Regions from separate parts of the Homo sapiens genome. Here all the other regions are linked to region 7. Evidence: promoter capture Hi-C in 16 types of primary human blood cells and fetal thymus (Javierre and others, 2016). All regions are on one chromosome and are shown on one strand. The core of a region is centred on a gene start or on the middle of the fragment in contact, and the rest is flanking DNA. Distances in the headings are between cores, read along the strand shown.

The links. The method cuts DNA at HindIII sites, captures the fragments that hold promoters and counts their contacts. A CHiCAGO score of 5 or more calls a contact.
Region 1: the fragment with the promoter of FAM136A here is called in contact with the fragment with the promoter of GMCL1 in region 7 in 8 of 17 cell types (neutrophils, fetal thymus, naive CD4 T cells and 5 more); the score reaches 19.1 in neutrophils.
Region 2: a contact is called between a fragment that was not itself captured here and the fragment with the promoter of GMCL1 in region 7, in 2 of 17 cell types (naive CD8 T cells and neutrophils). The highest score is 5.9, in naive CD8 T cells.
Region 3: a fragment that was not itself captured here is called in contact with the fragment with the promoter of GMCL1 in region 7 in 1 of 17 cell types (total B cells); the score reaches 5.2 in total B cells.
Region 4: a fragment that was not itself captured here is called in contact with the fragment with the promoter of GMCL1 in region 7 in 2 of 17 cell types (M2 macrophages and naive CD8 T cells); the score reaches 5.7 in M2 macrophages.
Region 5: a contact is called between a fragment that was not itself captured here and the fragment with the promoter of GMCL1 in region 7, in 5 of 17 cell types (total CD8 T cells, neutrophils, fetal thymus and 2 more). The highest score is 5.7, in total CD8 T cells.
Region 6: a contact is called between a fragment that was not itself captured here and the fragment with the promoter of GMCL1 in region 7, in 2 of 17 cell types (neutrophils and total B cells). The highest score is 5.8, in neutrophils.

Annotation. Positions count from the first base shown.
Region 1 is chr2:70,300,814-70,303,513 of GRCh38, reverse strand. It overlaps FAM136A (family with sequence similarity 136 member A), which reads left to right and starts at 1,447. Exons shown (of 3, transcript NM_001329752.2): 1 at 1,447-1,910; 2 at 2,534-2,674. The coding sequence starts at 1,503. RefSeq lists a silencer at 1,258-1,527 and enhancers at 1,213-2,161, 2,162-2,700. The HindIII fragment of the contact is 2,364 bases long and covers 1-1,752 here.
Region 2 is chr2:70,234,455-70,237,154 of GRCh38, reverse strand. It overlaps TIA1 (TIA1 cytotoxic granule associated RNA binding protein), which reads left to right. Exons shown (of 13, transcript NM_022173.4): 2 at 980-1,076. Among named protein-coding and RNA genes, the nearest start is that of TIA1, 13 kb to the left of the region's middle. The HindIII fragment of the contact is 3,544 bases long and covers 1-2,700 here.
Region 3 is chr2:69,393,493-69,396,192 of GRCh38, reverse strand. It overlaps NFU1 (NFU1 iron-sulfur cluster scaffold), which reads left to right. Exons shown (of 8, transcript NM_001002755.4): 8 at 1-67. Among named protein-coding and RNA genes, the nearest start is that of GFPT1, 7.6 kb to the right of the region's middle. The HindIII fragment of the contact is 6,902 bases long and covers 1-2,700 here.
Region 4 is chr2:69,375,718-69,378,417 of GRCh38, reverse strand. All of the region lies in intron 1 of GFPT1 (glutamine--fructose-6-phosphate transaminase 1), which reads left to right. Among named protein-coding and RNA genes, the nearest start is that of GFPT1, 10 kb to the left of the region's middle. The HindIII fragment of the contact is 2,784 bases long and covers 1-2,700 here.
Region 5 is chr2:70,280,814-70,283,513 of GRCh38, reverse strand. It overlaps PCYOX1 (prenylcysteine oxidase 1), which reads right to left. Exons shown (of 6, transcript NM_016297.4): 6 at 2,329-2,700. It overlaps SNRPG (small nuclear ribonucleoprotein polypeptide G), which reads left to right. Exons shown (of 4, transcript NM_003096.4): 4 at 1,830-2,152. The coding sequence ends at 1,880. Among named protein-coding and RNA genes, the nearest start is that of SNRPG, 12 kb to the left of the region's middle. The HindIII fragment of the contact is 773 bases long and covers 939-1,711 here.
Region 6 is chr2:70,264,033-70,266,732 of GRCh38, reverse strand. All of the region lies in intron 3 of PCYOX1 (prenylcysteine oxidase 1), which reads right to left. Among named protein-coding and RNA genes, the nearest start is that of PCYOX1, 7.2 kb to the right of the region's middle. The HindIII fragment of the contact is 712 bases long and covers 990-1,701 here.
Region 7 is chr2:69,828,363-69,831,062 of GRCh38, reverse strand. GMCL1 (germ cell-less 1, spermatogenesis associated) reads right to left here and starts at 1,403. Exons shown (of 14, transcript NM_178439.5): 1 at 911-1,403. The coding sequence starts at 1,170. It overlaps LOC124906021 (a long non-coding RNA gene), which reads left to right and starts at 1,532. Exons shown (of 2, transcript XR_007086846.1): 1 at 1,532-2,700. RefSeq lists silencers at 739-914, 862-941, 1,322-1,551 and enhancers at 525-1,445, 1,962-2,051, 1,446-2,367. The HindIII fragment of the contact is 7,336 bases long and covers 1-2,700 here.

The sequences.
Region 1 (2,700 bases), core at 198-2,697, 470 kb before region 7:
CAATCCCATTTCTAGATATTTACCCAAAAGAAAAGAAAATCTGTGTCTACAAAAGACTTGGTCCAGGACTGGGTGGTGGTGCATACCCGTAATCCCTTTGATAGGCAGAGGCAGGAGGATAGCTTGAGGCCTGGAGTTTGAGACCAGCCTGGACAACATAGCAAGATCCCATCTCCAAAAGAAAAAAAAAATGGTCAAGGATGTTCATAGTCACCACTTTATTCATAATAGCTACTAAGTGGAAAAGACCCAAACACCCATCAGCAGGGGAATGGATCAACAAATGTGGGCCGGGACCGATGCCTCATGCCTGCAATCTCAGCACTTTGGGAGGCCGAGGTGTGTGGATCCCTTGAGCTCAGGAGTTGGAGACCAGCTTGGCTAACATGGTGAAACCCCGTGTCTACAAAAAAAAAAAAAAAATTAGCCAGACGTGGTGGCACATGCCTGTAATCCCAGCTACTCGGGAGGCTGAGGCATGAGAATCACTTGAACCAGGGAGGTGGAGGCTGCATGAGCCGAGACCACATCACTGCACTCCAGCCTGGGTGACAGAGTAAGACCCTGTCTCAAAAAACAACAACGACAAATGTGGTATGTCCATTCAATAGAATACTACTCAGCAGCAAAAAAGAACCAACAACACAGCTCAATCTCGAAAGCATTAGGCTAAGTATTTTTCAGCAATATGCTAAAAAAGCCAGACAGAAAAGGAGTACTTATTGGATAATAACATACATATGACATTCTAGAAAGAGAAAATGTAATCTACAGTGACAGAAGCAGACCAGTTAGGGCAGGGGTGGGGAGATGGGGTAGAAAGGACGGAGATTGGGACAAGACAGAGTTTGGGTTTTTATTGTTGTTTAGAGACAGAGTCTCACTCTGTCGTCCAGGCTGGAGTGCAATGGCGTGATTTCGGCTCACTGCAACCTCTCCCTCCCGGGTTCAAGCAATTCTCCTGCCTCAGCCTCCCAAATAGCTGGGACTACAGGCATGTGCCACCACACCCGGCTAATTTTTGTATTTTTAGTAGGGACGGGGTTTCGCCAGGTTGGCCAGGCTGGTCTCAAATTCCTGAGCTCAGGTCATCCACCTGCCCACGGCCTCCCAAAGTGCTGGGATTACAGGCGTAAGCCACTGCGCCCGGCGGACAGGGTTTGTTAAAACTCATCAAGCAGCACGCCTAAGATCTGGGCATTTATCTGTATGTAAATTACATTAAATAATTTTAAAGAATGTAAAGGGAGGGACATGGGAGGGAGGAGGAAAGGCAGGCAGCAGCCGCAGGGCAGGTGTCCCAGTGACCGGTTCCCAAGCGGGAGGAGGGCGGTGGGCTCGCGGACACCAGCATGCAGTGGCTCCGTTCGGCCGCCAGGGGGGGGCGTGGGCCCTGGAAGGGCAGGCGGCGAAGGGCGGCGAAGGGCGGTGAGGGGGCGGGCCCGTACGCCGATTCCATATGGGCGCCGGCGCGGAGCGCCGCGGGGCAGCGCGGGGTCGCCATGGCTGAGCTGCAGCAGCTCCGGGTGCAGGAGGCGGTGGAGTCCATGGTGAAGAGTCTGGAAAGAGAGAACATCCGGAAGATGCAGGTAGCGGGGCTGGGGCCGAACCAGGACCCCCTTCTCAGCGGGTGGGTTCCGGGCCCTTCCCTCAGCCACCACGCGACGCCTTGCACTGCAGCCGCGTCCCCGCAGACCGGGTGTGGGCGGCCCTGGGGTCGCCGGGGCGGCCTCGGACAGGACTTCGGAAGCTTTGGCGGATCGGATGAAATCCGTGTGCCCTTGCCGTGCGCGAGGCTGTTTTCCGCCCCTTCCAGCCCGGGGCAGGAGCGTCCTCGGCGGCAGGTGGGAAGCCCCTGGTGGCAGGCGCTCGCCCCACCACCTTCCCCTCTTACGCGGCCCCTTCCGCAGGTGAGCGGCCCGAGGCCCAGCAGAGGCGCTGCCAACGTGAAAGACCAGAAAGGCGAGGACTTCCGGCCTCCCCGTTGGCCAGGTCATGCCTGCTTCTCTTGCGCCCAACCTCGCTTCACACAGCGCGGGTTTCTACACTGTTCTTCTCTGAGCCCCGCAATGCCTCTGTGTGTTTCGGTCCTGCTTCTCTCACGGAGTATGCGTTTCCCAGATAGTGCCCCTTGAGTCATTGATTAGTGGGTCGGCTGCCCTCTGGTGGAATTTGTATTGCTAGGTTGCTGACCTCTGAACCCCATGGAAGAGGCTCCTGGTTTTCAGAATTTGGCTTCGTCAGACCACCCTACCCTCACCCACTCGGGCGAACCTCTGTTCACCCAACCATCGGTGCAACAGGTGCCGATGAGCTAGCAGCAAGGACACCATGAAACACTACACTAGACATTGAGGATAATTTTCCCCAGTGGTGGTTTTAAGGTCCTGGTGTCTATTCTCAGGGAAGGTGAAAGCAGAAGGTGGAGAGAGAGGTGCAAATATCCACGTGGCCTTCTAACTCCTGTAGTGCTCCATAGTCATCTCTGTCCCCAGAGACTTTCCTACCTAACCTCTCTGCCCTTTCTCCCCAGGGTCTCATGTTCCGGTGCAGCGCCAGCTGTTGTGAGGACAGCCAGGCCTCCATGAAGCAGGTGCACCAGTGCATCGAGCGCTGCCATGTGCCTCTGGCTCAAGCCCAGGCTTTGGTCACCAGTGAGCTGGAGAAGTTCCAGGTGAGAAATATCCTAGACAGAGCACT
Region 2 (2,700 bases), core at 154-2,653, 410 kb before region 7:
CTGGGATTACAGGCGTGAGCCACCACACCTAGCTAATATATTTTCAAATAACATACTTTACATCTGTTTTCAAAGAGATTTTGAAGTGTTGGCAAACTTTTAAAAGTTACTCCCAAATATTATAGTTTAAGGCAAAGATCTGCCTATTTCTCAAGTTTAATTTTTAATGAACAACTTTAGAAACCGATGGAGAATAAGCAAATTAAAAATGGTAAATCAAGGGCTGGGCACAATGCCTCATGCCTGTAATCTTTAAGATTACACTTTGGGAGGCCAAGGCAGGCAGATCGCTTGAACCCAGGAGTTTGAGACCAGCTCAGCAACATGGTGAAACGCCTTCTCTACAGAAACTGTAAAAAAATTAGCCAGATATGATGGCACACGCCTGTGGTCCCAGCTACTTGGGAGGCTGAAGTGGGAGAATCCCTTGTGCCCAGGAGGTGGAGATTGTAGTGAGCCAAGATTGCGCCACTACACTCTAGTCTGGGCAACCCAGAAGACCTTGTCTGAAAAAAAAATAAATTGAGGTAAATTGAGCTGGGTGTGGTGGTTCCTCTAGTCCGTTACTCAGGGGACCAAGGCAGTAGGTTTGCTTGAGGCCAGGAGTTTGAGAGCAGCCTGAGCAATATAGCCAGACTATTTCTCTTAAAAAAAAAAACCGGGTGCAGTGGCTCACACCTGTAATTTCAGCACTTTGGGAGGCTGAAGCAGGCGGGTCACCTGAGGTCAGGAGTTGGAGACCAGCCTGACCAACATGGAGAAACCCCGTCTCTACTAAAAATACAAAATTAGCTGGGTGTGGTCACGCATGCCTGTAATCCCAGCTACTCGGGGAGGCTGAGGCAGGGGAATCACTTGAACCCTGGAGGCGGAGGTTGTGGTGAGCCGAGATCGTGCCATTGCACTCTATCCTGGGCAACAAGAGTGAAACTCTGTCTCAAAAAAAAAAAAAGGTAAATTGTTTCTCTTTGTGTTTCAGATACGTCGGTAACCTTTCCAGAGATGTGACAGAAGCTCTAATTCTGCAACTCTTTAGCCAGATTGGACCTTGTAAAAACTGCAAAATGATTATGGATGTAAGGGTATTTTACTTAGTTAACTTTATTCTTTTTTTTTTTACACATTACTTAAAGCCATTGCTTGGAAGGAATTCTTAGTTTACCATGGTCTAAATATAGTATAAATTATTAGTTTACTGTAGTCTAAATATAGTCTTAGTTTACCATATTCTAAGTTAATAGGGATTTTAGTGAATTTGTAATGAACCTGTTTTGACAGCTGAATTTAATTTGTTTTATTACATGATGGAAGATGACAATAGAACTAGTTATTTCTAGATCAGATGGGAACATATATATGGGCTCTTTCAGGTGCATTGAGGCATCAGAAATGTTTATATGTGGTGTCAACTGGTTGGCTAATAAATTCAGCTCTTACAATTAAATTGGAAAACAGGTTTAAAAATAATAGGCATTTGGTACAGTGAAAGTATTTTTAACTTTATTTTTAAAGGTCATCATTCAAGTTTTTCTTGTATTTAGGCAATTCCTATTTATGAGACAATGTATTAAACACACACACATACACACACACACACACACACACACACACACTCATTCATCTAATTGGTGTTAACCCTGAATCATAATAGGTATAAAAAGACATTTAGGGAACATTTACCCCATTTCCCTGGAGTCTTTGTCTCCTGGTTGGGGGGAAAAGACTTTAAATTTTTTTTTGAGACGGAGTTTTGCTCTTGTTGCCCAGGCTGGAATACAATGGTGCGATCTCGGCTCGCTGCAACCTCCGCCTCCCGGGTTCAAGCAATTCTTCTGGCTCAGCCTCCCAAGTAGCTGGGATTACAGGCATGCGCCACTACACCTGGCTAATTTTGTATTCTTAGTAGAGATGGGGTTTCTCCATGTTGGTCAGGCTGGTTTAGAACTCCCGACCTCAGGTGATCCACCTGTCTTGGCCTCCCAAAGTACTGGGATTACAGGTATGAGCCACTGTACCTGGCCTAAATTTTTTAATGGGAAAGGCTATGTTAAAGAGAAATCCTTTTGTCCCATGGTCTCTCTTTTCTGTAAACTTTTCGTTTGTTTGTTTGTTTGTTTGTTTGTCTTGAAAGACAGGGTCTTGGTATAGCCATTGCACCCAGCCTGCTATAAACTTTCAGTTTTCTTTTCTCCAGAAAAGACAATCATGTATGTGTGTATGTGTATCTGTTACCTTCTTTCCTGTTGTATTCCAGTTCAACTTTTTTTTACTTAATATTTTTAAAAGTAATTATTTAGCCGGGCACAGTGGCTCACACCTGTAATCCCAGCACTTTGGGAGGCCGAGGCAGGCAGATCATGAGGTCAGGAGTTCGAGACTAGCCTGACCAACATGGCGAAACCCCGTCTCTACTAAAAATACCAAAATTAGCCGGACATGGTGGCAAGCGCCTGTAATCCCAGCTACTCAGGAGGCTAAGGCAGTAGAATTGTTTGAACCCAGGAGGCGAAGGTTGCAGTGAGCCGAGATTGCACCATTGCACTCCAGCCTGGGCGACAGAGGGAGACTGTCTCAAAAATATATATTTATCCAATTGGCTTTGATTTGTTGTCTTAGATCTTAAAATGTTGTCAGACCTTTGTTCTGATGCTGCAAAATCATCTGCATATTATATAGATGAAATCAACAAAGAGTTATGTT
Region 3 (2,700 bases), core at 93-2,592, 430 kb after region 7:
CAAGTTTTTATTATTAATATGCTGAGGAACTTGAAGATTAATAAAATATGCTCTTCAGAGAATGATATATAAATATTGCATGTTTGCTTTACCTCATATGAGTTATTTATAACCTCTTGAATCATCTTCTGTACACGTGGATTTTATCCAAGGATATTTTTATTTTTGTCCCTCATTTCCCATGGCTCTTTCTTTGCATATGTGTGAAGGAGTTTAAAATACATTTCCCCCCATCTAATTTATTTACTTTTTTCCATACAGGAAGAAACAGAATGCTTTTTAGAATATTCTAAAATAGCTTTTTGTGAAATATCTAAAACTATTTTTACTGAAGTTTTTAGCTTAAGAAACAGCTAAACAAGTCTGTTTTAAAAATGGTATCTGGCTACTAGCCCCCAATTAAGTAGCAAAGAACTGCTTAAGACCAAAAAAAAGAAATCAAAAATGTCCGGGTATGGTGGCTAACGCCTATAATCCCAGCACTTTGGGAGGCCGAGGTGGGCAGATCACGAGGTCAGGAGTTTGAGACCAGCCTGAACAACATGGTGAAACCCCGTCTCCACTAAAAATACAAAAATTAGCCGGGCGCGGAGGCACGCGCCTGTAATCCCAGCTACTTAGGAGGCTGAGGCAGGAGAACTGCTTGAACCCGGGAGGCGGAGGTGGCAGTGAGCTGAGATCACGCCACTGCACTCCAGCCTGGGGGACGGAGCGAGACTCCATCTCAAAAAAAAAAAAAAAAAAAAAAAAAAAAAAGGTGAAAAACTTGAAAACTAACTCCCAGAATCTGGACACAGTTTCTATTGGTTAAGATGGAGATGGCCAAATTAGAAAAACTGCCTCAGCATGCCCAGCCTTTACCTTATCAATCAGAATTGCTGAAGAAAAGAGAAGAAGCTGCTTTGGTCCTCCCACTGGCTTCTGACTCAGAGATCCAAAATCTGTACCATGCCAGAAGTGTGCATCATTATTTTTGTACTCTAGGGGTACTGCTTTTTCAGGTAGCCAAAAGAGTGATTTAGCCTCCTCTCTCATTTTTCTACAGTAATTCAGAGACTGCAGTTAACAGAAAATACAGGGAAAGGAAAGATGGGAAAAATAGTTGTGATGCATTGCATCTCTGGAATTCTAGTCCCTCAAATTAAGGAGATTAAGATAGTGATGGAAACAGGAAGAACTCTAGCAGTTGTGAGTGCTGGGAATTGAAGTTTTTACTTTTATCCTTTGGTTCACTGAACCAAATAGTAGGGTTGGAGAATTCATTCCTTGAGATATCATGTATGAATTTAATTTAGACACTGGGAATTGCTTCATAAGCAAGGCAACTTAACCTGCCCTTTAGTTGAAGCTACAGGAAATTGACATCGTGGATGAGATGCCAGTAATGGCAGATCTTGTATGTGGCCATGAAATAAGTGGCTGAATTGGATGGAGGATTAGTTTATTAGAAGAGAGGAAATTGGCCTGGCGCAGTGGCTCATGCCTGTAATCCCAACACTTTGGGAGGCTGAGGTGGGTGGATCACTTGAGGTAAGGAATTCGAGACCAGCCTGGCCAATGGTGAAACCTTGTCTCTACTAAAAATACAACAATTAGCCAGGCAAGGTGGCATGTGCCTGTAATCCCAGCTACTCAGGAGGATGAGGCACGAAAATCCCTTGAACCTGGGAGGCGGAGGTTGCAGTGAGCTGGGATCGTGCCATTGCACTCCAACCTGGGTGACAGAGCGAGAGTCTGTCTCAAACAAACAAACAAAAAAACAGGAAATTATTCAATTGAGAGGCCAAAGAGGAAGAGAGGAAAGATTTTCTACAAAAGCAACAGCCATGAAGAACAAGGAGGAAAGGTGTGGGAAGAACATTCTAGGCATAAGAACAGTATAATCAGAATTGTAAGTGTGAAATGTATTTGGGAACCTCAAGAAACTAAGTATGGCTTGAGTATAAAGTGAAAATGGTGCATGAGTAGGCAGTGGTAGTATAGAGAGTGCCACAGAAACTCTTGGTTGCCTACCCAACATACACCCTCACTTCTTGTTAAGGAAGGCACTCTCAGTAGGTCTCACCTCAGTCCCAGGGGATAGTTATGATTAAACCAGTCACTTTAACTCCATTTTTCTTTTCCAGTCATTAGTCTGTGGGTAGCCATATGACCTAGCTCTGGCCAGTAAACTGGAAGAGAAAGTCTATTGGAGAATTCTGGAAAGATTGTCTTTCCTAGTTAAGAGAGTGTGTATGTGAGTTAATCTCTGGAAAGAAGGCTCTTTTTTTTTTCCTCCATCCATTCCTTTTCTTCCTGCTTGGTACACTGTAGAGTGTGATGTTCAAAGCAATGACAGTCAACTTGTAATCATGACTAAAAGGTGGTCCACTGAGAATAGCAAAGAGCAAAGAAAGGGTCTGGATCCTTGGCCTTGCACGGTGGCTCACACCTGTAATCCCACCACTTTGGGACACCCAGGCGGGTAGATCACTTGAGGCCAAGGGTTTGAGACCAGTGTGGCCACCATGGTGAAACCCCATCTCTACTTAAAAACACAAAAATTAGCCTGGTGCAGTGGCACATGCCACCTAGTAGTCCCAGCTACTAGGGAGTCTGAGGCTTGAGAATCACTTGAGCCTGGAAGGTGGAGGTTGCAGTGAGCCGAGATCACATCACTGCACTCCACCATGGGCGACAGCAAGACTCTGTCTCAGGAAA
Region 4 (2,700 bases), core at 103-2,602, 450 kb after region 7:
TATGCTTATACAGCTACTGTGTGTGCTCTTAGAGCAATTACTGAAGAGTGGCGGAAAGTTGATATTAGGCTTTTGTCATTACCTTACTTAAGAACTGTTTATTGGGAGTTTAGGCCGGGTGCAGTGGCTTATGCCTGTAATCCTAGCACTTTGGGAGGCTGAGGCGAGTGGATCACCTGAGGTCAGGAGTTCGAGACCAGCCTAGCCAACATGGCGAAACCCCATCTCTACTAAAAATACAAAAAATTAGCCGGGCATGGCGGCGGCCACTGTAATTCCAGCTACTTGGGAGGCTGAGGCAGGAGAATTGCTGGAACCTGGGAGGTGGAGGTTGCAGTGAGCTGAGATGGCGCCAGCCTTGGCGACAAAGCGAGACTCTGTTTCAAAAAAACAAAAAACAAAAAACTGTTTATTGGGAGTTTTGATAAGACAAGTCAAAGACCTGAAAATAGAGGTCAGACTAACGATTTCTGCTCTAACAAGCATCATTGTGAGTTGTGAATGCCTCCCTTGTGAACATGCCCTGTGTACCTGATGAATTGCTGCCAGTATTGTCTCGGGCACCCCAAGATTACAGTTAACCCGGTATCCCCGCAGGTGGAATGTCTTGGGCTAGTAGTGCTATCAAGGGACAGGGCTATGAAACTGACAGGTTCAACTTCTTAGCTCCCATTTTCCTCATCAGGTATGTCTGAGGCTAATCCCCTTCCTTCTTCTAGCTCTGTTACTTTTTTGTTTGTTTCTTTGTTTGTTTTTTTGAGACGGAGTCTTGCTCTGTTGCCCAGGCTGGAGTGCAGTGGTGCAGTCTAGGTTCACTGCAACCTCTGCCTCCCAGGTTCAAGCTATTCTCGTGCCTCAGCCTCCCGAGTAGCTGAGACTACAGGCACGTGCCACCACAGCTGGCTATTTTTTTTTTTTTATTTTTATTTTTAGTAGAGACGGGGTTTCACCATGTTGGTTAGGCTGGTCTTGAACTCCTGACCTCGTGATCCGCCCGCCTCGGCCTCCCAAAGTGTCGGGATTACAGGTGTGAGCCACTGTGCCCAGCCAAAATGTTCTTAAGCTCTCAAGATTCATATAGTGAGCCATTATAAACCAAGGAGATTGGAGTTAGAAGTATTATTAAAGTTGAATGCTGTTGTTGAGTTACATTATTAAAAACAGTGAATTTAATATTGCATTACTTAATCTTTTTTTTTTTTTTTTTTTTGAGACGGAGTCTTGCTCTGTTGCCCAGGCTAGAGTGCAGTGGCACGATCTCAGCTCACTGCAACCTCTGCCTCCCAGGTTCAAGCAATTCTCCTGCTTCAGCCGCCTGAGTAGCTGCGATTGCAGGCACCTGCCATCATGCCTGGCTAATTTTGGTATTTTTGTGGAGACGGAGTTTCAGCGTGTTGCCCAGGCTGGTCTTGAACTCCTTACCTCATGTGATCCACTCGCCTTGGCCTCCAAGTTGCTGGGATTACAGGCGTGAGCCACCCAGCCCTGCCGCATTAATCTTTAAAAAAAAGTAGAGTCTATAAATTGTCTTAAAAACAATTTTATATCATTAGCATTTAAATAGTTTTAACACATTCATATACATCTTTAATCTTTAAATCATTTACCATCCGGCTTACATTTTTATGTTTTTACCAACTTTCATTTTTATCATCTGGCTTACATTTTTACTTTTACTATCAGACTTAGATTTCTTAAAAAAGAGAGAGTTTAGGAGTGAGTTTTTCTGGATGTGCTTAGAATTTGGCAGCTCTGGACAATCTGCAAACAATCCTCGACAGGCTTCTGTTTTCAAATAAGCTAGATTGTATCCTCCTTTAGTGGACTCTAGCTGATGCAGTCACAGTGGTGGGAACTAGTTCAGATTCAGTTTTTTTCACACTTTTTTTTTTTTCTTTTGAGATGGAGTCTCGCTCTGTCTCCCAGGCTGGAGTGCAGCAGTGCGATCTCGGCTCACTGCAACCTCCGCCTCCTGGGTTCAAGGGTTCAAGTGATTCTCCCCGTCTCAGCCTACCAAGTAGCTGGAGTACAGGTGCACGCCACCATGCCCGGCCAATTTTTGTATTTTTAGTAGTAACTATGGGTTTCGCCATGTTGGCCAGGCTGGTCTTGATTTCCTGGCTTCAGGTGATGCGCCTGCCTTAGCTTCCCAAAGTTGGGATTACAGGCGTGAGCCACTGCACCTGGCCCACATTTGTATTAAAGTATTGTTTTAGAAAAGATTTGTGTGCTGTGTATTGTCTTTTAATGACCTGGTTAAAATACTTAATTGATAGTTATCTGTACGTGTTTAATCTTTCTCAAAGATCAGTGACCCATAGGTGAAGAGTGCAAAGTTTGATTTACAATTGGGTTATTCGTTTATTCATATTACAGATACTTCATGAAGGAACAGCAGTAGCAACAAAAACCCCGGACTCATTCTTCTGAATTAAATGGGTGCAGATTGGTCTGGAGACTCTTCTGCTGCCCTCTAGTGTTTATATCATGAGTAGCCATTGAAAGTTGGAAGCTGCACATTGCTGTGCCGCTACCACTCTTACCTTAGCAATATCCTTAAGCAGCATGTTGTTTATCCTTATCTTAATTGCTGTGCTTTGAGGTTGGGAATGCTATTTGTGGGTATCTCTGGGATATCAGTTAACTCAATTTCTATTTTTGAATTATGTAAGATAGATGTTCTACCCTCCCTTACAGGGT
Region 5 (2,700 bases), core at 76-2,575, 450 kb before region 7:
TATGTGTAAATAAAACAAGCATGATACTGTGAGAAAAGAATAAGTTACAACTACTTTTACTCTAGCTGCCTATAAGCATAGCTCCACTTTGAATCTTTTTGGAATGCCTCCATTTCTAATAAACACCTCAAATTATTACATTACCTTTCTCTCCCCTACATTACCTATTCTTTCCCTCCCGTACCCCTCCATTCACCTATCCAATTCTACTTGACTGATGGGTGATCTATCGATTATGATGATCTCCAGTCTATTAGGGACTTACTGTTTTTAGTCCCCTAGCCTTCCAGTTTCGCTTATTTTTCTACCCCTCTTGAATTCATTTACCAGCTGATTCATCTATACTCTGATAAGTTTGTCTGTTGGTTTGTTTTGGTTTTGGTTTGTTGTTTTTTTTTTTTTTTTTTTTTTTTTTTTGACAAAAGACAGTTTCGCTCGTTGCCCAGGCTGGAGTGCAGTGGCGCTATCTTGGCTTACCGCAACCTCCGCCTCCCGGGTTCAAGTGATTTCTCCTGCCTCAGCCTCCTGAGTAGCTGGGATTACAGGCATGTGCCACCACACCCGGCTAATTTTTTATTTTTAGTAGAGATGGGGGTTTCTCCATGTTGGCCAGGATGGTCTCGAACTCCCAACCTCAGGTGATCCACCCGCCTTGGCCTCCCAAAGTGCTGGGATTATAGGCGTGAGCCACCACACCCCCGATAAATATTCTTATCTTCATTTATGGCTTATCTACTAGGTCAAGCACTGTTCTCCTAGGGCCTTTTTTTTATAACTTCTCTTTCTGCCTCTAGGTTCTGTCCTATTCAAACTTCGGCGTATTTATATAATATCTTGTTGCAGGGACACTTATGGTTGTCATTCCCCCAAGTGAAACTCTCACTGGCTCATTGTTAGTTTCTGATGTCCTCCAAACACTAAGATTGGCATTTGAAGCTTTCCAAGATTGAATGCCAACTATCTTTGTTTCCTGATTCTCTTCGTGAACTTTTTACTGCATTCAAATTAGATTACTTCCTTATCCTCTCATACTTTGTCTTCATCTTAGTTCTGTCTAGAATTTCCTACAATCTCCTTTTCAAAATTCTGCCCAATTTCCAAGACCCAGGTAAAATGTCATTTTCATAAAGCATGCCTTTCACAATTTCCCATCCTGGTTTCTTCCCTAAATGATCTCATACCTCCAAACTGTACCTAACATACTCTACTGTACATATTTTACTCATTAATTTTTGGATCCCATAGAGTCAGGGATGGGCATTTAAATTTGAGTCCTGCATTTTAGAAGGTGAAATTAGGGCCAGGCGTAGTAGCTCACGCCTGTAATCCCAGCACTTTGTGAGGCTGAGGCAAGCAGATTACTTGAGGTCAGGAGTTTGACACCAGCCTGGCCAACATGGTGAAACCCCGTCTCTACCAAAAATATAAAAATTAGCTGGGCGTGGTCAGGGCTCCTGTAATCCTAGCTACTTGGGAGGCTGAAGCAGGATTGCTTGAACCTGGGTGGCAGAGGCTGCAGTGAGCCGAGATTGCGCCACTACACTCTAGCCTGGGCAACAGAGTGAGACTGTCTCAAAAAAAAAGGTGAAATTAGTCATTGGAGACTTGGCATTAGAATCTCATAAAGCAAATTGTTAGCCTTAAATCCAAAAGATGTCTGTCGTATAAAGGGCTTAGAGTTGTTTGGTGTCCCTGTGGCTTGAACAAAGCTTTGCAAACCGACATGTAATATTAAAAAACCATTAATGATTTGGTGAAAATTCTTAAATCATCATAGTTATGTCTGTTACCTGAGTTGTTCTTTTCAAATTTATTTTTCTCTTTCTTAGGTAATACGAGGAAATAGTATCATCATGTTAGAAGCCTTGGAACGAGTATAAATAATGGCTGTTCAGCAGAGAAACCCATGTCCTCTCTCCATAGGGCCTGTTTTACTATGATGTAAAAATTAGGTCATGTACATTTTCATATTAGACTTTTTGTTAAATAAACTTTTGTAATAGTCAAAAATGCTTTCTCAGATGTTCTGAATATAGAATATCAGCTCTCATTCCAGTTTTTTCTAACATGAATTTTCCTGGTTGACATTGATTTCAAAGGGTTTTATGCATTAAAGTGAAAGAATCTTATTAAATGTGAAACATGGCAAGGATTCCTTCTGTCCATCATCTTTCAACACTGAACAGATAAAGAAGTTACAAACATGAGTGAGTTTCTTCTAAAACACTAATTTTCAAAACTTGTAAGAATAGTAACTTTGATCTAGCCTGACTTTCCCAAGTACATCTACATTCCAAATATAGTACAACAGAAGCAAAAGACAAGAAGTAATGATGTAGTTGTTTATTTTGAATATAATCATGAAGTGGGGAAAAATTTTAATACAAGAGTAGAAAGAGGATTCCAGAGAAAAACATTCCAGTGTATCATGGTTCTTTGTGAGTGAGTAGAGAGGGGTAGTGAGGATGCTGTCCACAATGTATTCATCTAGTTAATGAATTGTATGGCCCACAAGCTCAAACGAGAGATACATTACAGATGGTTGTATTATAAACCTAATCTTAAGAAACCTTACCAAGCAAATGCTTAAAGACTGATTTTTTTGTGATCTGATAAAAAGCCTGCAAATCGTGAATCACTTTTAAACTGTACAGAATGGACTACACACCAGTATGGTAAAGTTCTTGTAAAACACCAAAC
Region 6 (2,700 bases), core at 96-2,595, 440 kb before region 7:
ATGGATTAAGGGCGGTGCAAGATGTGCTTTGTTAAACAGATGCTTGAAGGCAGCATACTCGTTAAGAGTCATCACCACTCCCTAATCTCAAGTACCCAGGGACACAAACACTGCGGAAGGCGGCAGGGCCCTCTGCCTAGGAAAACCAGAGACCTTTGTTCACATGTTTATCCGCTGACCTTCCCTCCACTATTGTCCTATGACCCTGCCAAATCCCCCTCTCCGAAGAACACCCAAGAATGATTAATAAATACTAACAAAAAAAAAAAAAGTTATAATCTTACGGTTCTGTAAATTAGAAGACCAAAGTCAGTCTCTCCGGGCTAAAATCAAGGTGTGCACAAGGCTGGTTCCTTCTAGAAGCTCTGAGGGAAGACTGTCTTTTCCAGCCTCTACAGGCCACCTGCATTCCTTGGCTCGTGGACGCACACCCCTTCCTAGCATCACTCCAATCTCTTCCTTCCATCATCACATCTCCTACTACCTACCCTGATCCTCCTGCCTCTCTAAGGACCCTTGTGATTATATTGGGCCCACCTAGATAATCCAGAATAATCTACCCATCCTTAACCATATCTGCAACGTCTCTTTTACCTCAAAAGGTAACACATTCACAGGTTCCAGGAATTAAGACATGGACATCTTGTGGCAGACAGCAGGGGAGAGGATTATTCAGCCTATAATAGGAGGCTACTCTAGCAATCCAGACAAGAGACAGTGGTGGTGACTTGGAACAAAGTGGTAGCAGTAATCCTGGAGAGAAGTAGTGGAATACTGGATGTATTTTAAAGGCTGATGGGATTCAAGATAGAGTGGGTTTGGGAAATGAAAGAACAAAAATTGACTCAAAATATTTGGTAGGAGTAACTGGAAGGAAGAAAGGGTGTTTATAAAGCCTTTCCCTGTGAGTCTATCAGTCTCAGATCAAGAAGTGTTAAGGATCTTACAAGTCCCCAGAAATGCACTAACTTGAGAGAGAAGAATAAGCTTTAACCTAGTCTACAAGCCAAGATATCTCAACAGGAAGCCATCAGCAGACCAGAGATTTAAATTCCACAAACATCTGAGTAAACATCTACTACATTCTAGTTACTGTGCGTAGCATAGAACACAAGCACACAGTGTGCACCGTATAATAAGGGATGTTTGAAAAGAAAGATGAATGTTGATTGAAGCATTAAGGAAATGCTTTGCTGAAAAAGTGAGATAAGAGGTTGGACTTGGGAGTAAAGAATGGCATCCGGCTGAGCGCGGTGGCTCACGCCTGTAATCCCAACACTTTGGGAGGCCAAGGTGGGAGGATCACTTGAGCCCAGGAGTTCAAGATCAGCTTGGGCAACATGGCAACACCCTGTCTCTACAAAAATTTAAAAAATTAGCCAAGCATGATGGCACATGCCTATAGTCCCAGCTGAGGCTGGAAGATGACTTGAGACCAGGAGGTCAAAGCTGCAGTGAGCTGTGATTGCACCACCGTACTCCAGCCTGGGTGACGGAGCAAGACTTGGTCTCAAAAAAAAAAAAAAAAAAAAAATTAGTTAAGAATGGCATCCAACCAGAACAACTACATAAATGTATGTGCAGAAGTGGAAATTAAGCTAGCTAGTGCTGATGTCAGGGGCTGCAGGATTTCCACTCAAGTACCTCCAACAGCAGAGAATGAATGAATGCACTGTTTTCGAGTATTGCCTACCACAAGCTTGAGCCCTCTTTCGAGTGTCATGGTTTACTACTGTTACATAGGTCTTTCTCCACCTTGTGTATACTTTGATCTTGGCTCACCACAACCTCCGCTTCCTGGGTTCAAGCGATTCTACTGCCTCAGCCTCCCAAGTAGCTGGCATTAGCTGCGCCTCCACACCCAGCTAATTTTTGTATTTTTAGCAAGGCGGAGTTTCACCATGTTGGCCAGGCTGGTCTCGAACTCCTGACCTCAAGATCTATCTGCCTTGGCCTCCCAAAGTGCTGGGATTACAGGCGTGTGCCACCGCGCCCGGCCCGTAAATTATTTTTTAAAGTCAAAAACAGTATAACCTATGTATCCCCTCACTGGTTCTTTTTCCCAGTTCTGTAATACCTTGAATTCACTTCAAAAGTGATTTCTTAGGCCAGGTGCGGTGGCTCATGCCTGTAATCGCAGCACTTTAGGAGGCCAAGGCGGGCAGATCAATTAAGGCCAGGAGTTTGAGACCAGCCTAGCCAACATGGTAAAACCCCATCTCTACTAAAAATAAAAAAATTATCTGGGTATGGTGGCACATGCCTGTAATCCCAGCTACTCAGGAGGCTGAGGCAGGAGAATCGCTTGGACTCAGGAGGCAGAGGTTGCAGTGAGCCGAGATTGCACCACTGCACTCCAGCCTGGGTGACAGAGTGAAACTCATCTCAAAAAAAAAAAAGTAATTTCTTAATTTCTCAAAGGGCAATTCTCTACATCTCAAGCAAGCCACAGATAAAAAAAAAAACAAGGCTGGGAACAGGAGCTCACAACCGTAATCCCAACACTTTGGGAGGCCCAGGTGAGTGGAACACTCGAGCCCAGGAATTCAAGACCAGCCTGGGCAACATGGCCAAACCTCATCTCTACAAAAAAAATACAAAAAATTAGCCAGATCTGATGGCACGTGCCTGTAGTCCCAGCTACACAGAGGCTAAGGTAGGCAGATCCCCTGAGCCCAGGAGGTCCAGGCTGCAGTGAGC
Region 7 (2,700 bases), core at 154-2,653:
CCGGTAGTCCCAGCTACTCGGGAGGCTGAGGCACAAGAATCGCTTGAACCAGGAGGTGGAGGTTGCAGTGAGTTGAGATCGCACCACTGCACTCCGGCCTGAGTGACAGAGCAAGGCTCTGTCTCAAAAAGAAAAAGAAATCATTTAAAAAATTTCATGTGTGACCCTACCAAATAACCTTTAAAAACAAAAGCAGAAAAACCAAATTGTTTGTGTAAGCATATATTCTACCTATAAACTACATTCCAGGTCACAAGTCAATATTCCATCTTTCAACTCATCCAAAAAAAAAAAAAAAAGGGGTTAAACAAGCTGCAGCAGCACCGCCCTACATACAGTACATCCACGGTCAACGACTTCATCAACTACTAGAAACTTGCACAGACTCTGTTCCTAGTTAGGAACAAATGTACACTATTGATAAACTTCACCTTTACAATTAACAAGAACTCCTGTGTGCAATTACTTACCCTCCACTGAGTGGGCGACAATAAGAGTGCCTATTTCAGAGATTACATTTAGTGTCTGTACTAAGGCAACCGGATGCAAAACAACTTACTCTGCGGCTACCCACTTGAGAGGGCAAAGGTGGACTGGGAAGGCCAGCCAGCCGGGCGTCTCTAAGGTTTAACGAGACGCGAGCTCGGGCTTGGCGTTTCTCATCCTCATCTTGGGGCTGTAACAACACCCTGGAAGCGTCTGTGGTTGAAAATGCGGAACACCTGGCGTCTCCCAAGGCGCTCCCCAGTCCGCCCCGCATCGGGCCGGCTTCCACATTCACCCTGTCAAGGGCACGTCCCCTCTCCATAGGCTGGGGAGCGCTGCACCCCGCAAGCGCACGAGGCGCCGGCTCGGCCCCAGGCCCAACAGGTGCGGGTCCGGGTCCGCGCGGGTGCGTGCCCCCACGTACCTTCGAGGGGTGTTGAGGAGCCGCTGCTGCTCGTCCCCCTCCTCCTCATCCTCGTCCGTCTCCGAGTCAGGGTGACAGTAGCAGAAGGACCCGCTGCTCCGCTTGCGCTTGTGGCTGCCCGCACAGTAACAGAATCCGTGGCCCGCCGCATCGTCTCCAGTGTCCGGCCTCCGGGCCGAGCCCCCCGCCCTGGCACCCTGCGCCTGCTGGGCAAGGGCTGGTCTTGGCTGGCGCAGCACCCGGCTGCTCAACGATCCCATGGGTCACGGCTCCCCGAGACTTCAGGGAGCCCAGAGAAGGGGGTCTCCCGCCATGGCTCGGCCGCCGCCGCCAGCCTTCCCCGAGCGCAGGTGCCTACACCGCCACCTTCTCACGCGCAGCCCCAACCGTTGCAGCGGACGCCACAGTCTCCATCCTCTTCCCCGCCCGCAGCGTCCGGTCGCGCCGCGCTCTAGCACCGCAGCACCTCGCCCCCTCGCTTTCGCAACAAAGCGCGGGACGGAGGGCGCATGCGTACGGCGAGCCTCCGGAAGGGGCGGGGCAAGGCGTGCGTGCGTGGCAGGTGGAGCCTGCGCACAATCCGGCGCGCCAGTGCAGGCTGGTGTTTTCGGGCCTGCGGTGGGCGTGGCCTCTGACTAACCCGAACTTCGGCGTAGACGTAGTGTTAAACCGTGGTTCATACGCGCCTCTGTAGTGGCAAGACCTGGGACTCCAGTCACTCATTGTTTCTACAAAGGTGCCTTGAGTCCCCGGTGCTTATGGGCCTGTGCTAAGCTAGTGGCAAAACCCCGAAGCTATTTGGTCTCCTTGCGGGAGCTCGGCGCTTGCTGGGGCCACGCTCTGCTTGCTTGGGCGTGGCCTCCTGTGAGAGGGGGCCCTAGGATGAGGCGATATGCTGGATTCCTGGGCTTCCTTAACATGAGCCCTCCCCTGCTGTAGACGTGAATGGAACCCGTTAAGTTATGGGAACGTTCCCGGCACTCCTTTCCTTTCCTCTCAAGTGCCAGTGGGATGTCCGAATAGGGTCTGGCACCATGACTGTCTGGACTCAAAAGTGCCTTCAGGAGGCCCTAGCAAAATTTACTAGTGTCTGCTTGGAGTAGTAGCAGCTCTTGTGATGGACTCCGGACAGCCAGCGTTCATTCCCTGACTCCCTTCTGTTACTTTTTAAGTAAAATAATGAAAATATTTCAAATAGAGTAATACAGATTCCTGTGGACCGACCACTAGCTTGAAATTTTATCAGACTTGCTTTCATTCTTTTTTCCTCCCAGCTTTATTGAGGTGTAATCAATGATTCATTCTTTTTTAAATAGAACAATACATATAGGCAGAAGCCCCTGCGTACCTCCTCCATCTCATTCTGTCTCCCTCCCCAGTGGCAATCACTGTGCTGAGAATGTTGTATATCATGTCCATGCATGTCCTTATATGCATACCCATAAATAATATTTTCTTTTGCATGTTTAGACATATCATGGAATGGAATCATAGTTGTACCTCTCATTGTGCACCTTTCTCCTCTCTCAAAATTATACTCTCAAGATTTATCCATTTGGTCAATCGCTAGATAATTTTCACTGCTCATTGTATGACTGACCCATATTTGTTTTTACATTCCTTAGTGAGAGAGGTTATTTCTACTTTAACGGCCTTACAGAGCAGCAATGAACATCATGTGCAATGGATTCACCAAGCAGATTCCCAAAAGTGAATTTGCTGCGAAATCTGCAACTTTGTTAGCTATTACCAAATTGCTCTCTGGGTTGATTGCATCAAGGTACCAATTT